Linked DNA regions of Homo sapiens: region 2 is linked to region 1. Evidence: promoter capture Hi-C in 16 types of primary human blood cells and fetal thymus (Javierre and others, 2016). All regions are on one chromosome and are shown on one strand. The core of a region is centred on a gene start or on the middle of the fragment in contact, and the rest is flanking DNA. Distances in the headings are between cores, read along the strand shown.

Region 1 (4,260 bases), core at 961-3,460:
CCATTGGCCGGGCGCGGTGGCTCACGCCTGTAATCCCAGCACTTTGGGAGGCCGAGGCGGGCGGATCATGAGGTCAGTAGATCGAGACCATCCTGGCTAACACGGTGAAACCCCGTCTCTACTAAAAAATAAGCCGGGCGTGGTGGGGGCTCCTGTAGTCCCAGCTACTCAGGAGACTGAGGCAGAATGGCGTGAACCCGGGAGGCGGAGTTTGCAGTGAGCCGAGATCATGCCACTGCACTCCAGCCGGGGCGACAGAGCGAGACTCCGTCTCAAAACAAACAAACAAAAAAACAAACCTGTCCATTATCTTTTTTATAGAATTAGCATGAATTATATTCAGTTAATGTCTTGGACCTAAAATCTGGGACCAGCAATTTAGTTATATATTATATGCTCTTAGATAGTTATATGACCTTAAGTTTCTCTTAATTAGGAAAAAAAAAAATTCCCTCACAGGACACTTGGAGTTATCAAATATTTAGAAGTTACCTTCATCCCTACTAAATATCATCAATTGTGTTTATTCTTCTTTACAGGGACAATCATATTTCCAGTTTTGGTTGTGAGTTTCTAATGTCATTTAAAAAGAAACCTAACTGGTGAAAAATGTACCTTAGGAAATCGGTGGGTCACTTTTTAAAATAAGTACTGTAATGATTAAGAGATGTAAAAACAATCTTTTCTTCCTCCTTTTGTTTGGGGTAAAGTGATAGAGAAGTATAAGATTGTCCCTTCAGAGTTACTGAAACTTTCCTTTAAATATTATGTCCCTCTATCACATGCGAAATAACTTCTCCTTTAATTTTTAAGTAGTTATTGTTTTGGGCTCTCAACTTTTATTTTTACCTAAGTTTTGTACATTAGACAGCCTAAGTTTATTCTGTGATAAGATATATAGATCTTAAGTTTTCTATCAGCACTTCTCCACACATTATTGGGATGAACTGAAGAGGTTTACTGACCACTAGTGTGGTCTTCCCGGTAATGATTATGTAGTGATTGGATGCCATCCAGATTCCTTGGTCTGTCTGCATCTTTTCTTGAGCTTTACCTCATTATTTCCCTGTCCTGTCCACCCCAAGTTATGTTCGCTACTTGGTGAAAAGCTCTTGGCATATGGGATAGTCTCCTTTTCAAGCGTGTCATCTTGTAGTAAGAAAGCCTTGCCTGCGGCCAGTATATAAGTGGGTTTCCATATACCTGGACCAACTGAACAGCTGCCAGAATGGACTCAAGTGAGCAGAACATGAATCTAGATGATTACTATTTAATCACTGTAGCCAGTGATTGTGTATTACCAAGTAGTGAGACTGGGAGGGTGGGAATAGAAGAAGCAGTGGGATGACTACTGACATAACTTAAAAGTTAATGGGAGTATATATCCACTACTTATGAGCCTCTCATACCAATTAAGCTGTGGTGATACAAAAGAATATACTAGGCATTCCCAATCATGTTGCATCATCTAGCATTGCTCACTTAGAGCTGGGAGGAAAAAAATCAGCCAGAATCAGCATTATCAACTCCGTTGCAAGAAGGAATTACAAGACACATGATTTGAAAAGTGTAAATGTAAAAATATCAATTGAATACCCATTGACACTAAGCAAGTTTCTTTGTTTTTGAGCAACACTAATTTTGAGTACTTAAGACTGGTGCTTTACACACACCACTCCAAAAATCCACATAACCCCTGATTTGGTGTTTTCAGAAGAAAGATCAGAATAGTCTTGTCCTAGATTCCACAGCTTGTTAAGCAGCACAACTGTTATGAAAACCTTATTTCCGTACCCATGTTCTCTTCCACGAGGCTACCCTGCTTCCCCACCTCAACCCTGCTCTCCCCATCAACCTAGGTTCATCCTGGATTTGAACTTAATAATAGTGCTAATCATGAAAGTTAGGAAGAAATGGATCTTTCTTCCCTATAGGACTGAATGTAGTTACTCCAATTAAAACAGTAAAGTGAATAACTTCATGAAGTTCAAGGTTGGAATGCCATGAAGAATTATGCCCTGGGCGGCTTTACAATGGATAGGCCAATACGTCGCCACGGCTTTTAAGACTGGGAAACGGGGCACCAGGCTGGGCTTTAGAAATCGCTGGAGAAGCCTGGGTGCGGCCGCAGCCCGCGCGGCCTAGGACGGAAGCGACGCCCCGCCCCGCTCCGCGCCCCGGGCAGCCGTGTGCAGGCGCCTGCGGGCGGTATCCTCGGCGACGCCGTATGGCTTCCAGGGCGAGGCCATGTACCGGGTGCCCGAGTTTTATGCGAGGAGGAAGCGGTTAGGTGGGCAGACCCCTTACTTGATGGATGTAAGTGCAGCCTTGGTCGCCCCCATACCCGGGCTGGGCGCAAGGCGGGCCCTGCTGCCCCCAACCGGCGCCGCGCCCCTCGCCCTCCTCCAGAGGCGGGTCGTCGCCTTCGCCCCGGGCTGGCGGTTCTCAAAGACACCTGGCCATATTTGCCTAGAAAAAAAAAAAACTCTGGTGTATTTGACAGATGGTCAGAATTGAATTCTGGCTCCCTGCGCAGGTAGTTAGATATTTACGAAATCCCACCTCACCACCTCTAATTGGTTGGTTGCAAAATAGGGAGACCTACTGCGGGGGAAGCAGCCCCGCTCTGGATAGAAAGGCTGGTGGGTGCTAGCTTCCACGGTGAAAAGGGTGTACTTAACTTTTTGCCACTGCCTGTAAAGGGCAGGCTCAGTGTTGGAGCCCGGAAGTCTCCAGAACCAGACAGCTGAGGCTGTCCTGGGTATCAGTTTATTGTCTGAATTTCAATTAATTGGTAGATTGCTATGATGAGCTATATGTAGTCCCAATTTCCTTCCTATCTTTCGCCCTTCCCTTCCTCCGCTGCTTCTTTCCTCTTTTCCTACTTTCCTCCCTTCCTTTCTCCCTCTCCCTCCTTCCTGCCGTTCTACTGAAGCCACACCTAAAATCAATCAAAGCGATAAAATCCTAGCTTCAAGTTTAACGCTTTAGGATTCTACACTCTTACTGAAAGTGTAAAGAGGGACTAGTAGGAACCATTGTTTTTTGTTTCCTTCTTATTACTTAAAAGATGTGTTAGTAAGTAGGAATTATTGTTAAAGGTTTATTGTGGCATATGGATTGTAAATTGAGCTTTTAATTATTTTTGCTGCAATCATTTCGTTTTACAGCAGTTGGGATTACGATTAGGGATGTGGTACTGGAAAGATGAAACCAGAACTCTTGAATTCAGAAGGTAAAATTTAACAACACTTTATTAGAGTTTTTATAAAAATTACATGTGCCTGGGGGAAAAAAAAGCAACAGAAGAGTATAGAGAATAAATACCCACTGAACCTTTGCCATCTGGAAGGAAACAATCATTTCAGTGAACAGCCTTTCTCTGAACGCTTACCAGCTGCTTCACATGGACCAGACACTGTGCTAATGTTTACCAACTCTTTGAAACAGCTGCATGTTAACCAATTTACAGATGAAGAAACTGAGGTTTCAAAGGGTTCAGCGACTTGAGGAAAATTAAGTGACTTAGCCCAATCACACAGCTCAGAGGTGACTAAGATTATTTAAATGTAGGTCTGTTTGATTTACAGAGTCCATGTTTTTAATTATAAAATTGCCTTTTTGAGTTAGAGAAATATAGTTAACATTAATGGGAACATATTATATCTGCTGCAATAGATGGTGAATCTCACAAGGTAAAATTACTAAATTAGAAAAAACTGATTCTAATCTCTATGAAAAAAGACACTGACTCTTACAAGTGTATAGCTAAATTAATACTAGACACTATCTGTTGTGCACTGATTGTGTGCCAGATATTTGCATATTTTTCCAATTCTTAAAACAACTGTGGAAAGTGAACATTAATGTCCTCATTTTATAGATGAAGAAACAAGGCTCAGGGAGATTAAGCAACTGAACCAAAGTCATACAGCCAGTAAGTAGCAGAACTGATAGTTTGAACCAAGATTTGTCTAATGCTAAAGCCCTTTTCATGTACTCGCTGTCTCCCTCAACTAGACAGTAAGCTCCTCAGTGGCAGGAACTATCTTATTCATCCTCAGGTCTCTGGAGCCAGCTACAGAACTTCTTCAGTAGGTACTCAACAAATATTTATTGAGCATGTTCAAAGAATCTGCTAGATTCAAGCAGAGGAAGAATAGATGCAGGTGATCCATTAGAAGACTAGTTGTAGGATTACAGATAATTATACAAGTAAGCAATAGCGAGAGTTAGAATTAACTCCAGGTTGGTAAAAAT
Region 2 (4,260 bases), core at 1,029-3,528, 110 kb after region 1:
TTGAACCCGGGAGGCAGAGGTTGCAGTGAGCTGAGATTGCACCACTGCGCTCTAGCCTGGGTGACACAGCAAGACTCCCACCTCCAAAAAAATCAAGAAATAAAAGTCCATGATAAGAATATGTAATGTTGCCATACACACGTGCATGCACACACACACGCACATACACGTGTGTGTGTGCGTGTGTGTGTGTGTGTGTGTGTATAGAGAGAGAGAAAGAGAGAGAGAGAGAGAGAGGGTCTTACTCTGTTGCCCAGGCTGGAGTGCAGTGGTGCAATCATGGCTTATTGAAGCCTTGGCCTCCCAGGCTCAAGTGATCCTCCCACCTCAGCCCCCTGAGAAGCCAGGACTACAGGCGTGTGCCACCATGCTTGGCTAATTTGTAAATTTTTTGTAGGGACAGGGTCTTGCTTGTTGCCCAGGCTGGTCTCAAACACCTGGGTTCAACCAATCCTTCCACCTCGACCTCTCAAAGTGTTGGGATTACAGGCGTAAGTCACCGTGCCTGGACTGTATATTTTGTGTGTGTGTGTGTTCTCTGAACAAGCTTCTTGAAAGCAGGATCTGTGTTTTATTCACCCTTATATCCCCAAAGCCTGGCAATGCCTGACTTGGAGTAGGCAGGAATTTTGTCAGTAATGTACTGAGCATTCACAACATGTGTCAGACACTCTTCCAGGGCTGATACGCATAGTAACTCTTAATTCTCATAATCACCTAATGCGGTTGGTTATATTATCATTTCCATTTTTTAGATTACAAAATGGGGCATGAAGAGGTTGAGTAACTTGCTGGAGGTTATGAAGTAAGAGCTGAGATTTAGACCAGGGCTGTTTTGTTCTAGAGCCCACGACCATCCTCTACCACATCTGCAGTGTTTGTAGAACTGAATTAAAGATGAGTGAGTAGATCTGTCAAACTTGTGCCAGGGAAAGCCCATAAGCTTACACCAGACACAGCTAGAAAGACATTGAGGAAGTCCTGGAAACCACCAGTGTGTTTTTAGGTGACTCATGGAGGCAAGAGAGCAAGTTGCAATGTCTCCGAGGGTAGTTGGTTTAGGAAAGGATGAAATATGTCAGAAAAATCTATGTACATAAATAAAACCAAGCAGCTGTGTTCACATTAAGATCCAAACGGAAACCCAGCTGAAGTAGGAGCCGTTGGATCTGTCCCACCAACCTGTTGTGAGCATGAGCTAGGTAAATATTTGGCTGATACAAGGTCCATCACAGGTTAATAGCTCTGGTCATTACCAAGCCTGGTTATGCTGGAATTGCATGTAGTCTCAACTGGACACTCATGTTTAAGCACAATTTAAAAAATCACCAAGGGAAACCAGGAAGCAACACTTCTATTTGGGAAGTCAACTAATGGAAAGTTTTCTAAAATAAGTAACACAGCTTCAGCTTCAGCAATGGGATTTGTGACATCCCTCCCGTGTCACAGTTAATGTCTACCTTGTTTAATACCACATAATAGTACTTTTAGCCTTCAGAACCTTGAAACTGCATAACTACTGGAACAGTTTAAAAAGAATGAGAACATAATGATTTCATACAGCCCATACGTTTCCCAAATAAGTAAAGGGAAGCTGACTTACGGCAATGAGAGGCGGTGTGGTAACCCGGAGAAACTAGGCTGTCGGTGGGACACATGGGTGTGAATCAGCTCTGCTACTTACATGCTCTGTGTGTCTCCGCAGGACACTTAACCTCTTTGAGCCTTACTTTCGTCATCTGGAAATCAAGAGGGTTGCCCTAGATAATTCTAAGGACCGGCCCAGCTGAAGGTTTGTGAGTGCATGAGAAGCCTGCGGTGGGTAAGGTTATGGTGTCAGCTTCCACGTGGTCTGCGTATACAGTGAAGCCCACGTGCCCTGCTCCATTTGGAGAGGCAGCTTGGCCAAGGTGTAGAATTGGAATCATCTGCATTGGAAGCTGCCTTTTGAAAGTGCTAGCAGTGTGCCCCAAGCGCTTGTTTTCTGATGGAGCTGATCTGCCCTGCCCAAGCACTAACTGGGAAGCTCTTACCCTTATTTTCCCTTTGCCCCAATTCCTTTAACTTTTTTTTTTTCTTTTTTTTGAGATAGAGTCTTGCTCTGTTGCCCAGGCTGGAGTGCAGTGGCATGATCTCGGCTCACTGCAAGCTCCGCCTCCCAGGTTCACACCATTCTCCTGCCTCAGCTTCCTGAGTAGCTGGGACTACAGGCGCCCGCCACCACGCCCGGCTAATTTTTTGTATTTTTAGTAGAGACGGGGTTTCACCGTGTTAGCCAGGATGGTCTTGATCTCCTGACGTCGTGATCTGCTCGCCTCGGCCTCCCAAAGTGATGGGATTACGGGCTTGAGCCACCGCGCCCGGCCCCTTTAACTCTTTATCTCTTTTTATGGTGTGTATTTTTCTAAGCACCTCAAAAAGATTTCATAAGATATGAAATAAAGTGAGAGTATAAAGCTATTCTTTTTTTTAATCCTCCAAAGTGAGTTGTTTTTGTAGGCTAATCATAGAACTATTGTATGACCTGGCAATCCCACTTCTTGGTATATACCCAAGAGAACTGAAAGCAGGGACCTGAACAGATATTTGTACACAATGTTCATAGCAGCATTATTCACAATAGCCAAAAGGCAGAAACCACCCAAATGTCCCTCAACAGATGAATAAACAAAATGTGCTATATTCATACAATGAAATAGTATTCAGCCATAAAAAAGAAATGCAATATTGATATATGCTAAAATATTGATAGACATTGAAAACATTATGCTTAGTGAAATAATCCAGACAAAGAAAAACAAATATTATATGATTCCCACTTATATCAGGTACCCAGAATAGGCCAATTCGTAAGGCAGAAAATAAGATAGAAGGCCGGGTGCTGTGGCTTACACCTGTAATCCCAACACTTTGGGAGGCCGAGGCAGGTGGATAACTTGAGGTCAGGAGTTCCAGACCAGCCTGGCCAATATGGTGAAACCCTATCTCTACAAAAAATACAAAAAATTAGCTGTGCATGGTGGCACGTGCCTGTAATCACAGCTACTTGGGAGGCTGAGGCAGGAGAATTGCTTGAACCCAGGAGGTGGAGGTTGTAGTGAGCTGAGATCGTGCCATTGCACTCCAGCATGGGCAACAAGAACAAAATCCCGTCTCAAAAAAAAAAAGAAAAGAAAAGAAAAAAGGAAAAGAAAAGAAAAGAAGATAGAAAGTGGGACGTGGTGGCTCATCCCTGTAATCCCAGCACCTTGGGAGACCGAGGCAGGCAGATGGCTTGAGCCCAGGAATTTGAGACCAGCCTGGGCAACATGGCGAAACCCTGTCTCTACAAAAATACAAAAAATTAGGCAGACGTAGTGGCGTCTGCTTGTAGAAAAAAAAATAGAATAGAGGTTACCATGGGCTGGAGGAAGGGCCAAAAGAGAAGTTATTATTTAATGGGTACAGAATTTTTGTTAAAAATAATGAAAAAGGTTTTGGTATACATAGTGGTGATGGTTATACAACATTGTGAATGTATTTAATGCCATTGAATTGTGAAGGTTAAAATGATAAATATTATGTATGTTACCACAATAAAACATTTAAGTAGGCTGTTTTTTGTGCTTCTGTCGAAAGCTTTTGTGTGTGTGTGTAAATTGGCTCTCTGTAATGTGAAAGAGAAAGGTGAGAAAATGAGCAAGGAAATAGTTGCTTAATAACGAAATCTGACTGGAAATCATGAAGGGCTGAATTGCACGTGTTTGCATCTGTGTGTCAGCAGTTGGGCGAGTTTGGGAAGACTCCAGGAGGCTTTGGATTTATGAAAGAGGCAGAGACAGCCAGAAAGGCAAGAGGGAACCAAATACCAAATGCAGGGAGTAACTTTTCCCCTAACAGATTTTCTATCTCCAGGCTCCTGAAATTAATCAGAAACTCAGTTTGCTCCTGAGAGGCTGTGGCTCTATGTTTTTGTGTGGTTTTTTTTTTTTTTGAGACAGAGTCTCACTCTGTCGCCCAGGCTGGAGTACAGTGGCGCCATCTTGGCTCCTCCGCTAGCGCCCCCCGCCCCCGCACCCCTCAACTCCCGCCCCCCGCACCCCCTTGCACCCCCCTCCCCGTTCAAGCATCTCTCCTGCCTCAGCCTCCTGAGTAGTTGCGACTACAGGTGCCCGCCCTACCACAACCGGCTAATTTTTCTATTTTTAGTAGAGATGGGAGTTCACCATGTTGGCCAGGCTGGTCTCGAACTCCTTACCTCAAGCGATCCGCCCACTTCAG

The links. Contacts are between HindIII fragments. The CHiCAGO score rates a contact against its expected background, and 5 or more counts as called.
Region 2: a fragment that was not itself captured here is called in contact with the fragment with the promoter of PPP1R36 in region 1 in 1 of 17 cell types (megakaryocytes); the score reaches 6.5 in megakaryocytes.

The regions. Positions count from the first base shown.
Region 1 is chr14:64,547,751-64,552,010 of GRCh38, forward strand. It overlaps PPP1R36 (protein phosphatase 1 regulatory subunit 36), which reads left to right and starts at 2,211. Exons shown (of 12, transcript NM_172365.3): 1 at 2,211-2,316; 2 at 3,171-3,235. The coding sequence starts at 2,248. RefSeq lists a silencer at 2,077-2,366. The HindIII fragment of the contact is 10,629 bases long and covers 1-4,260 here.
Region 2 is chr14:64,653,445-64,657,704 of GRCh38, forward strand. No RefSeq gene overlaps it. Among named protein-coding and RNA genes, the nearest start is that of PLEKHG3, 49 kb to the right of the region's middle. The HindIII fragment of the contact is 2,675 bases long and covers 942-3,616 here.